Linked DNA regions of Homo sapiens: region 1 is linked to region 2. The links are contacts of gene promoters, found by promoter capture Hi-C in blood cells and fetal thymus (Javierre and others, 2016). All regions are on one chromosome and are shown on one strand. The core of a region is centred on a gene start or on the middle of the fragment in contact, and the rest is flanking DNA. Distances in the headings are between cores, read along the strand shown.

The links. The method cuts DNA at HindIII sites, captures the fragments that hold promoters and counts their contacts. A CHiCAGO score of 5 or more calls a contact.
Region 1: a contact is called between a fragment that was not itself captured here and the fragment with the promoter of AATBC in region 2, in 1 of 17 cell types (endothelial precursors). The highest score is 7.1, in endothelial precursors.

What each region holds. Positions count from the first base shown.
Region 1 is chr21:44,094,753-44,100,646 of GRCh38, reverse strand. TRAPPC10 (trafficking protein particle complex subunit 10) reads right to left here. Exons shown (of 23, transcript NM_003274.5): 21 at 2,113-2,290. Among named protein-coding and RNA genes, the nearest start is that of PWP2, 9.7 kb to the left of the region's middle. The HindIII fragment of the contact is 1,603 bases long and covers 2,128-3,730 here.
Region 2 is chr21:43,811,317-43,816,914 of GRCh38, reverse strand. AATBC (apoptosis associated transcript in bladder cancer) reads left to right here and starts at 4,348. Exons shown (of 2, transcript NR_026961.1): 1 at 4,348-5,598. LOC124905033 (a long non-coding RNA gene) reads right to left here and starts at 4,243. Exons shown (of 2, transcript XR_007067897.1): 1 at 1,920-4,243. The HindIII fragment of the contact is 6,406 bases long and covers 1-5,150 here.

The DNA of each region.
Region 1 (5,894 bases), core at 1,680-4,179, 290 kb before region 2:
GGACATGGTAGTGTCTTAATATATGGCAGGTGTTATTATTAACATTAATTATTAAAACACAACCATCATGTAATTCAATGCAATTCAAACACTTAAGTGATCATTCACTGGGACTAGCCCTGGAGATATGAAAGTAAGCAAGACAGGATCCTTGCCATCCAGTAGCAGTAGACCTGGTAAAGAGGTCACAGCTTCCCATCATGAGGATACCGAGCAACCGCCCAGGGGGAGTGAGTGACCAGAAGGCCACGAGCAGCAGAGAAGGGCTCAGGGAGGTGGACATCCTGTAGTTGGGGATGGGGGACCTTTGAGGACAGGAGCTACTACAGGACATGCAGAGGCCCTAGGAGTGTCAGGAGGAAGGCAAAGGAGTGACAGTTCTCAGAGTGTGGCTCTCAGGGCACCCGCAAGCTCATAGCTTTCACACTGCTGCCTTTCTACGCTGCTGACCTCGCGCTGCTGGGGCAACCACAATGGCATGAACTCGGGCCAGACTGCGCAGTCATGTCACTCATGTTCTTTACTACCATGAACTCACAGCAAAAAAACAAAAAAAAAAATGCCACGCTTCACAAAGCAGTCAAAAGTGCTCATTTTATTAAATTCAGCTCCTGAGTAGACTTTTTTTTAATTGTGAAATGTTTATAGACTCACAAGAAGTTGTAAAAGTAGTAGAGGGGTCACATACCTTCATCACCAGCTTCACCCAACTGTGCCATCTCGTGTAACACAGGAAGCTGACACTGGTACCATACAGTGACCCAGGCTGCAGACCCCACTGGATTTCACTACAGAGTGAACCAGGCTGCAGACCCCACTGGATTTCAATACAGATAGAACCAGGCTGCAGACCCCACTGGATTTCACTACAGAGTGGACCAGGCTGCAGACCCCACTGGATTTCAATACAGCTAGAACCAGGCTGCAGACCCCACTGGATTTCACTACAGAGTGGACCAGGCTGCAGACCCCACTGGATTTCAATACAGATAGAACCAGGCTGCAGACCACACTGGATTTCACTACAGAGTGGACCAGGCTGCAGACCCCACTGGATTTCAATACAGATAGAACCAGGCTGCAGACCCCACTGGATTTCACTACAGAGTGAACCAGGCTGCAGACCCCACTGGATTTCAGCAGCTTTCGCAGGCATTCTTTGGGTCTAATTCTATGGCATTTGTCACATGTGTAGATTCGTGTAACAACCACAGCGGCCCTGGCCCAGAACTCTCCATTACCACAGAGGACGGCCTCCTGCTGCCTCCCACTGCTCCGTGGAACACTGACCCGCTCTCCTTCTGAGGCTGGCATTTTGAGGATGTCATTTAGAAATGGAATCACACAGTACACCTCCTTATAGGACTGGCGTTTTTCTCTTAGTATAATGCCCTTGAGATCCAACCACAGCACTGCGTGTGTCAACAGTCCCTTCTGTTTCACTGCTGAGGAGGAATCAGATGTGCCAGTTTAACCGCTCTCGAGCTGAAGGACGTTTGAGTTATTTCCATTCTTGAGTGCTTGTGTTCTTGACATTCTCTGGGTCTCTGCTGCAGAATGACAGCTGGCTCAGGGAAAGCACACGGGGAGCGCTCGGTGCTGCGAGCTGAAATAGCCGCTGTTTTCACAGAACGCCCTTTTCACTTGCAAGAGCGCTGGGGAAGCTAGTTATTCAGTGTTGGGTATTTGGTAGACGTCTGATTAAAAATGAATGATGTAAGCCTGTCACTTCAAAGAAAACAACACGACTATTTGCTGCCAATGATGCCATCTGAGACTTTAAGCAAAAATCAGAATTTTGGAAAACTTACACTTGCCACTGTGAGCTTGAAAGAGTTCTGATGCTCCAAGCCCTCCCTGAGAGATCACAAATGCAGATTTTAAAAAAATATTGTCAAACGAAAGGTGCCCACATTTGGAAGATCTGCACAACTCAGGAAACCATGTTTCCCACATGACTAATGGCACAGGGTGTAACGCTATGATGCCTGGGTAAAAGAGCCATTCAAAATGCAAGATAGGCTGAGTGCAGTGCCTCACACCTGTAATCCCAACACTCTGGGAGGCCAAGGCGGGAGGACTGCTTGAGCCCATGGGTTCGAGACCACCTACCTTCATACATAAGCTTTGTCGAAAAATGCTCATCAGATTCAGTCAGTGCTTCATCTTTATCCACCTCCAAGAGGTCTGAGAGCCTCGTGATCAAAACCTCCAGGGAGCAGAGGGAGCCTGTTCTGCAATACTCCATTCCCGAAGGGGGAAAGATCTCAGCCTTCACGTTGTATAATGTCTGGGCAGGAAAGGGAGAGAATAGAAAGGAAATGTACCTAAGTGGCCTCAAGAAATGCAACTAGAGGAAAAAGCAGAGCTGCCCACAGACCCTGGAGAGCTGAGGATAGACACCTATCTGCTCGGCTGGCCTTAGAGCAACTGTCGCCACTCACTCTCAATAATTCCCACTGGAGATGCAATGTTTTCGGAAGTCCTACACTCCGAACCTTAACATCCTTCTTTAAATTATGAACATTTTCAACCACAGGAAGAAAGGATAGCACAGAGCCCTTCCAGCCGCCTATCACCCAGATCCTGAGATCTCAGCATCTTGCTGCCTCAGCATCCTCTTATCAAGCCATGGACATTTCTGTATTTGCCTGAGGTAATTTAAAGCGAATTTCAGGCCAGGCATGGTGGCTCACGCCTGTAATCCCAGCACTTTGGGAGGCCGAGGTGGGCAGATCACTTGAGGTCAGGAGTTCGAGACCAGCCTGGGCAACATGGTGAAACCCCGTCTCTACTAAAAATACAAAAATTAGCCGGGTACAGTGGCAGGTGCCTGTAATCCCAGCTACTTGGATTACTTAGCAGGAGATTCCCTTGAACCCAAGAGGCAAAGGTTGCAGTGAGCTGAGATCGCACCACTGCACTGTAGCCTGGGTGACAGAGCAAGACTCTTGTCTAAAAAAATAAAATAAAATAAAAAAATAAAGCAAATTTCAGACAACCTGTTATTTTGCCCCATCTGCTTCAGTATGCATTACTAAACACTAAGGCCTTTTTCTTACCAAAACACAATGCTATTATTACAACTAGCAAAAGCAACAGGAATTCCTTGGTATAACCCAATTCAGTCCATAATCTACTTTGTCCGTGTTTTCTTTCCATAATCAACCTATTCTCGGTGGCTATTCAAACATGCTTAACATTCTACCACCACCCATGACAAACGATCAAAACACATCTGCCACTGCCAAGATGAAAAAGGGCTCATGCACTACAACCTGGCAGTTCCACTTCTGAGGGGAAGCGTTGTGTGTGCGCGCGAGCGTGTGTAATACAGTATAGCTTGACTTAAAAAGTGTTCTATTGGCATTGTAAAATGTTCAAAGAAGAGATTTCAGTATATTAAGAAGCATTTGTCTGGAGTCTGAGGCCAAGATGAAGCCGTTTTATGGGAGTTCACAGCCTAAACAGCAGTCCCAAGAGCGGCCTTTCTAGGTGATCTCCTACCAAATGCCCAATTACCTCTGTTCGGACATGGGACAAACTCCCACCAGTCTCAAGAGGGGCCATGCTGGGACTTCCTGGGGCTCTCAAGCCACAGGGCAGAAAAGATCCCAAATACACAGATGCAAAAGTGCCAGCCGTGGGCCCGGGTGCCCGTAGGTCCTGGGAACTGAAGCAGTAGAACACTGTGCTAGAGGCCCACTGAAATACCTCCTCCTCAGAAGCTTCTGGCTGGGGCACAGTCTGAATGTTTCTGAATCCAGCAAAGAATGCAGATTTGCCTCAGGGCTTGAAGGACACCCAGAGTTGCAGTAGGACACAGTGGGGTGTGATGAGACCTGCGTGTGCCTGAACGCTGCTCTGGGCTGCATCTGGGAAGGAGAGTGGCTGGGGGAAAGCACAGCCCAAGGCGAGCAGCAGGGGCCTCACCTGGCGGCACCTGGAGCTCAGGCACAGGGACCAGAACCGCAGAGCCTCTTCAGAGAGACACGCGAGCACTGACGGCCAGCTGGAATCTGGCAAGGGGGCCAGGGCCACCCTGCAGGGAGGAAAGCATCGTCATGACAGATGGGATAGGGACACCTGCTGGGTCATTTGAAAAGAACAAATTTGGACCCTACCTCTCACCATACACAGAAATTAAGTCAAAGTAGATCACAGACCTAAATGCAAGTGCTCAAATTACGAACATCTTGGAAGGAAATGCAAGAGAAAATCTTTTTGACCAAAGGCAATGATTTTCTAGGTCCAAAGCAAAAAATTTAAGCAATAAAAGAGAGAGTTGAATTGGATTTCATCAAAATTTAACTTTGGTGCTTCAAAAGACAACAAATGGAAGAAAATACTTGCAAATCATATATAAGGACCTGGTACCTAGGATATATAAAGAACTTACAATTCAATAATAAAAAACAAATAACCCTATTTAAACATGGGGAAAGGATCTGAACAGACATCCTTCCAAAGAAGGCAGAAAAATGGGCCACACGCCCACGAGCCGCAGCACATCACCAGCCACTGGGGAAACGCCTGCCAATTGGGACAGCCACAACCAAAAACACAGTGAGACAAGTGCTGGCAGGACACACAGAAGCTGGGACTCTCTGGGTCCCAGCTGGAATCCACTATGTTGCTGGTGGGAATGTAGAGCCCTCTGGAAAAAGTTGGCAGTTGCTCAAAAAGCTAACCACAGAGTTACCCTATGACCCAGAAATTCCACTCAGGTCTTTACCAGGAGAATTGAATAGATACAGCAACATACAAACCCGTACTTTGGGCCAGGCACGGCGGCTCATGCTTGTTATCCCAGCACTCTGGGAGGCCAAGCGGGGTGGATCATGAGGTCAGGAGTTCAAGACCAGCCTGGCCAAGATGGTGAAACCCCATCTCTACTAAAAATACAAAAAATTAGCCAGGCGTGGTGGCACAGCACATGCCTGTTATCCCAGCTACTCCGGAGACTGAGGCAGATAATTGCTTAAACCTAGAGGGGCGGAGGTTGCAGTGAGCCGAGATCGCGCCACTGCACTCCAGCCTGGGCGACACAGCGAGTCTCTGTCTCAAAAAAACAAAACAAAACAAAAAACAAAAAAAAACCCATACTTTAGCCGGGCACAGTGGCTCACACCTGTAATCCCAGCACTTTGGGAGGCCAAGGTAGGTGGATCACCTGAGGTAGAGAGTTTGAGACCAGCCTGATCAACATGGAGAAACACCGCCTCTACAAAAAATTAGCCAGGCGTGGTGGTGCATGCCTGTAATCCCAGCTACGCAGGAGGCTGAGGCAGGAGAATCGCTTGAACCTGGGAGGCAGAGGTTGTGGTGAGCCGAGATCGTGCCATTGCACTCCAGCCTGGGCAACAAGTGTGAAACTCCGTCTCGAAAATAAATAAATAAATAAATAAATAAATAAAATAAAATAAAAATAATTAGCCAGGTGTGGTGACACGTGCCTGTGGTCCCAGCTACTTGGCAGGCTGAGGTGGGAAGATAATGAGCCCAGAAGGTCCAGGCTGCAGTGAGCTATGATTGTGCCACTGCACTCCAGCCTGGGCAACAGAGTGAGACCTTGTCTCATAAATAAATAATTTGTTTATATATAAATTATTATTATAATATATACTATTATTTGATTTAATTAAATTATTTAATAATTTGTGGTTTTATTTATTCATTTAAATTTATTTAAGGAGAGTTATATAAAACATGAAGGTCAAAACAATTTGTCTTGGATGGAAGAAGATAGAAAAAAACTGCTAATATCAAAACTATAAAGACAAACACTTCAAATAAACATTGTTTGATAATTTCAAATAGTAAAGAGAAGAAAAGAAAGTATCACAAAATTGCAAAACATTAAGTCAAATCATCTCCCTAAAGGAACACAGCAC
Region 2 (5,598 bases), core at 3,099-5,598:
CAAGCCAAGTGTGCCCAGACCTCCGTCCTGAGCTCAGCCTGCAGCAGATGGCGCTCTCTGCTGCCCCCCTTCTTTCCTTGGCCACCCCAACCATGGTCCCCCAGGCTTTGCCTCGTTTGGTGCCCTCAGCCCTCCTCCTAGGCTGGGCCTCCTGCAGGCCATGCAGGAGAGGCCTCTTGTCCACCTGTGCCCTGCAGAGGCACCCCCCACCAGCCCCACAGAGCTGCCGTCCCTGCTGGGGCTGTGGCCAGCTCCGGGGGCACACCCCTCGTGGACAGAGGCTGTCTGGGGCCAGGGGGGTTGGGGAGGGGTGGAGGGGAGGTGGCTGATGGGTCAGTCCCTCCAGCCTGGGTCTGGGAGAACCCACAGCAGGCTTTGTGGGGTGCCTGGTTGCCTCTCACAGGGAAAGTGTCAGAGGGGCAGTTGGGGGTGACTTCCTGGTCAGGGGGAGAGTGGCAGGAGGGCCTATGTCCAGGAGGGGCTATGTCATCCCCTAGCACCTGCTGGGCGGTAGGGACAGGTTTTCTGGCCCCACAAGGGCCACACGCCCAAGGCCAGGACCTGACCTGGGGCCAAATCTCCCCAGTAGCTCCTGTGTCCGTTCACCACCTGGCTGAGCTGGGCTGTGCCCTGGTGGTGGCTGAGGGTCCTGGAGGCGGAAGTGCACAGGGCACAGCAGCTCACCCAGAGATCAGGCCCCGTTAACCCTCAGCAGGAGAGGGAGGCAGGGGCCGGGGCTGCTCCACCCAAAATGCCACCCAAGTGCGGCACGGCCCAGGGTGCGGAAGGGACCTGGTGACCAAGGCCGGCATGTGCCCAGGGTGCGGAGGGGACCAGGTGACCAGGGCCAGCGCGTGAGAATAACATGTGTGACCGACACAGGCAGCTGGAGACAGGAAACGCACAGGGGGTCGGTGTCCCTCAGACAGCAGAGACTGTCACGGGCCGAACTGTGTCCCTCAGACAGCAAGGGACTGTCACGGGCCAAACTGTGTCCCTCAAAAATCCGAACGTGGGAGTCTTAACTCCCCCAGGATCCCAGCTGTGACTGTATTTGGAGGTAGGGTCTTAAGAGAGGAGATTAGATTAAAATTAGATTGTAAATCAGCAAATTGTATCTTAAATATATGATCTTTAAGTGTCACAAATACCTTAATTAAAAAAAAATAATTGAGAAGCCAGAACATGAAAAGTTTTTTAAGTTAAAATAAGGCTATTTGGGTGGACCCCACCCAACCTACCTGTGTTTTTATAAGAGGCAATGAGGACACAGACACACAGGAAAACGGCCCTGTGAGGACACGGGGAGGAGGCGCCAGGTGCCAGCCCAGGAGAGAGGCCTCAGGAGCCAGCCCCACTGCACCCTGGCCTCGGGCCCCAGCCTCCGGGACTGTGGGAGAATCTATGTGGGTTGCTGAAGCCCCAGCCTGTGGTCCTTTGTCACGGCCACCAGAGCAGACTCACACAGCGGCCTCAAAGGATGGGGCCACTTGTTCTCCCCGCCGCCCCCCTGCCCCGCCCACCCCCCTTTCCCCTGCAGCCACGCCCCCTCACCGGCCGCCTCCCGCCCCGCCCACCCACCTTTCCCCTGCAGCCACGCCCTCTCACCGGTCGCCTCCCGCCCCGCCCACCCACCTTTCCCCTGCAGCCACGCCCTCTCACCGGTCGCCCCCCCTCCCCCCCGCCCACCCCCCTTTCCCCTGCTGCCACGCCCTCTCACCGGTCTACACACCCGTGCACCCCTGCAGGGCCTTGGCACTGGCTACTCCTGCCGCCAACCCCACTCTGCCCCAAATATCCACTTGGCTCCCGGCTTTGCCTCTGTCAAATATTTGCCCAAAGAAGCCCTCCCCTGACCGCACACTCGCCCTCCACACGGCCAACCCTTCACCTTGCTCTATCTTCTCCACTGCACTTACTGGGGGCTTCAGGTAGTCTTCCTGCTTCCTTCCTTCCTCCCTCCAAAACAGAGGCTGAGCCCGGCTGTTGCGGACCCTTGCCTGAGGCGAGAGGCAGGAGTAGGACATCATGTGCCAGGCGCAGTGGCTCACACCTCACGAACATTCACCTTGAACAAACCTCATCAAGGTTTTCCCCACATCTCAATGGAAGGGCAGCCCACGGCTGATTGACGGGTTGGAGGGGTGCCCAAAAGACAACCTTCCTGCCCCAGCCAGCCCAACTCCAGGTGCTCCAGGGCTCCCAGTGGGACCAGGCTGTCTCCAGCCAAGCCGACCTCCTGGCCTGGCTCCCTCCCTCTCCGCAGAGTGCCATGATCACCCCACACAGGCCCCAGCACCTCTGACCTAAACCCCAAGGGCCAGAATACGGTGTCACCACCCACCCAACCTGACCCAGGCCGAGGGAGCTGGGAGCAGAAATTCAGGATGCGGAGGTGAGGGGAGCAGAGGCTGGATTCAATTCAGCCGAATTCCAATTGGGAGAAAAGTGAACTCCACCCGGGCTTGCCTGGAAGCCCGTTTCCTTGGGAACCGCAGGGCTGAGAAACAGCCTGGCCAGGGAAAAGGCAGCTCCTGGCGGGCAGCCTGGGGCAGCCATGGGTGTGCAGACCTCGGCCCCTGTGAGCAGCGGAGAGAAAAGGACAGGTGGCACTGGGCTGTGGCTTCTCCGTGTCCAGGAGACCCGAACGGCTCAGAGCCTTCAGGCAAGAGTAGGACATTATGGGTCGGGCGCAGTGGCTCACGCCTGTAGTCCCAGCACTTTGGGAGGCCAAGGCGGGCAGATCATGAGGTCAGGAGTTGGAGACCAGCCTGGCCAACGTGGTGAAACCGTCTCTACTAAAAATATAAAAATTAGCTGGGCATGGTGGCGTGTGCCTGTAATCCCAGCTACTCAGGAGGCTGAGGCAGGAGAATCGCTTGAACCCAGGAGGTGGAGGTTGCAGTGAGCCGAGATCATGCCATTGCACTCCAGCCTGGGCGACAGAGCGAGACTCTCTCTCTCAAAAAAAAAAAAAAAAAGTAGGACACTGTTGTCTGTCCAAGGGAGGGACAGACCCCAGGGCAAGTGGCACAAAGCAGACAGGGTGCCAGGAGGTGCCCAAGGGGTGCCAGGGGCAGGGTGAGGACCTGGTGCTCAGACTCAAAACCTACACTCAGGCTAGCTCCCAGTCGGCCAGCCCAGGAGTCACCCAGGCACACCCTAGGGGAGGGGACGGGGCTGCCTGCTGCCTGAGCCCTTCACTCCCCCGGGGAATGGGACCTGTGCCCCACAGCCTAGGGACAGGGCCACTGGCCTTAGGACAGACCAGGCAGCAGACAGGCCACGGCACCATAAGCCCTATACTCATTCCCCGGCACCACCTGCTCCTGGCCAGGCCCCACACTTGGTCTGGCCTGACCCTGCCCTCAAGTGCCCTGAGGGTGACATGGGGGGCCCAGGGGCTGCTGGGGATGAGGATGAAGCCTGACTGTGAGGCGGGGCAGACTGGGCGGGGGCCTGGGCCTCGCTGGGTCACCTGGGATGTAGGTCAAGGCAAGGAGGGAGGACCTGGAACGCCCCTCCCCTGCCCCTGCCTGGCTCCCCAATGCCCTGGCCATGGGAATCAGGTACTGTGGCACCAGGTGGATGGTCTGGGTGTCCAGGGAGTCTGGGGCCACTTTTGGAATCTGCCAGCCCCTGCCACGTACCAGCGTTTTCGAATCCTCTCACTCTCCGCCAAATCACCCAGAGCAGTTTTCCAGGGACAGGAGAGGGAAGGAGCTGCCCATTGCGCTGCCCCTGGCTCAAGCTCTGAGAGGGGCGTAGGGCTGGGGACAGCGGCCAGGACTCCGGGGCTGTGGGGGCGGGTTCTGGGTGCGTCATGGGGTGCGCCCTGCTGTGCCTGCCCGAGTGCGGGGCCTGACCTGACCAGGTGAGCCCTTCTCTGAGGAAGCTGATGAGGGAGAATTTCTCCTGCTGGCACTGAAGAAGCAAAGTGTGTGGGGGGGGGAGCCTCGGGGAAGGGGGCTGTGGGCACCTCCAGGATCTGAGGGAACCCCAGGAATAGCCCGTGAGAGAAACGGGAGGCCTACAGCCAAGAGTGCATCCTCTAGAAGACAAGGAAGAAAGAAGAATGCACCCTCCCAACAGCCAGGGAGTGTGCGAGAGGCCCAGCCTCCAGTGCCTGGCAGCTTCAGCACCCACTTCAGCCAGGGAGCCCTGGGCAGGCCCAGCCATGCCTCCCAAACCCTCGTCTACGGCTGGGCGCTGACATGCAGTGGTGGTGAAGTCACCAAGTTCAAGGTAATTTGTTGCACAGCACGGGTACTTAATGCAGGAGGGACTCGATAAACATTTAGGCAGGAAAAGAAAGAAGAACAAAGGAGGGAGGGAGGAGCCACCAGGAAGGAAGGAGGGTGACTGCAGAGACCGGCCCTGGGCAGCGGTACCAGGGGCACAGGGAGCCTGGCCCGGCCCATTGTCACTGGAATTCATGCCATGCAGACTTCTACATCAAAGGGAAACAAGGTCAGGAGGGCCGAGGGGTCCACGGCACTCCGCACCCACGGGGCCAGGCTGGCACAACGCCCCAACGCTGCAATCCTGGGAAGAGTCACACGCGCCCTCCCGGGACCCACGTGACCATCAAGGGAGTGTGGAGGACACATCCCTCGGGGGTGACGCCCCTGCAGATGGAGTTTCCCCATCTGTGCCACCCTTGCAAGGCCTGGGAAAGGCTGCGGGGCCAGGCGGCACCGGGCAAGCTGAGTGCCAGGTGGTGGTTGCAACACACCGGGCAAATCTGAAACCATGGGACGGACGAGCTGCACCCCTGGGAAAGAGAACAGAGGAAGGCCGGTTATCAACGTCCTCCTGTGCCTCAGTTTCCAGAAACAAGCCAGACTCAGTGCCTCAGGGAGACCCCGTGTGGCCTCCGGAGAGCACGGGACCCGCCCTTTGTGCAGGTGAGGAAACTGAACCCCAGAGCAGTGAGGGACTGGCCTGGGGACCCTGGGCTCAGCCCTGGGCGCCTTCCCTCTGCCCATCTCAGACGGGCACAGCCAGCACCGCCTCACCCCAACGCGCCTCCAGACTGGCCCTCCAGGGGCCCCCAGGCACAATCCTCTCACTTTCTTCCTCAAGCCCCTGCCTTCCCCCTTCGCACTGTGACCCAGGGGCTGCTAGCAGCTGGGCTGGGCTCCAAAGCTTGAAGCTGCTTCTCCAGGTCTCTTTCCAGGGGGCGGCGGATGGCTGCTCACTCAGGGACGCCAACACCAACAGGAAGGGACCCATGCACGGATCTGACTTCCCTCCCAGGCTCTGCCTTCACTCAATGTCCCTGTGGGGCAGCTGGGGCTCCCGGCCGCCCTCCCCTGCCCACAGCCGTGAGGTTGCTTCCTAGGGTTCTGTTTTCCCCACAGTCGGAACTGAGGTGCTGGGAGGCTCCAGAAGAGGGATGGGGTGGAGCAAGTGGCCTGGAGCCCCCCAGGGCAGACCCCAAAGAGAAGGGTCAGAAGTGCCCTCTGGGGCCTGGGCAGCTGGGGGGAGCCCACAAGCCTGAGACCCTGTGGGAGGGAAGCGCCCCCACCCCGTGGTAAGAAAGGGGCTGGTAGAGGCTCCTATGTGGCTCCCTCTGTCCCCTCCCGACCTCTGGCC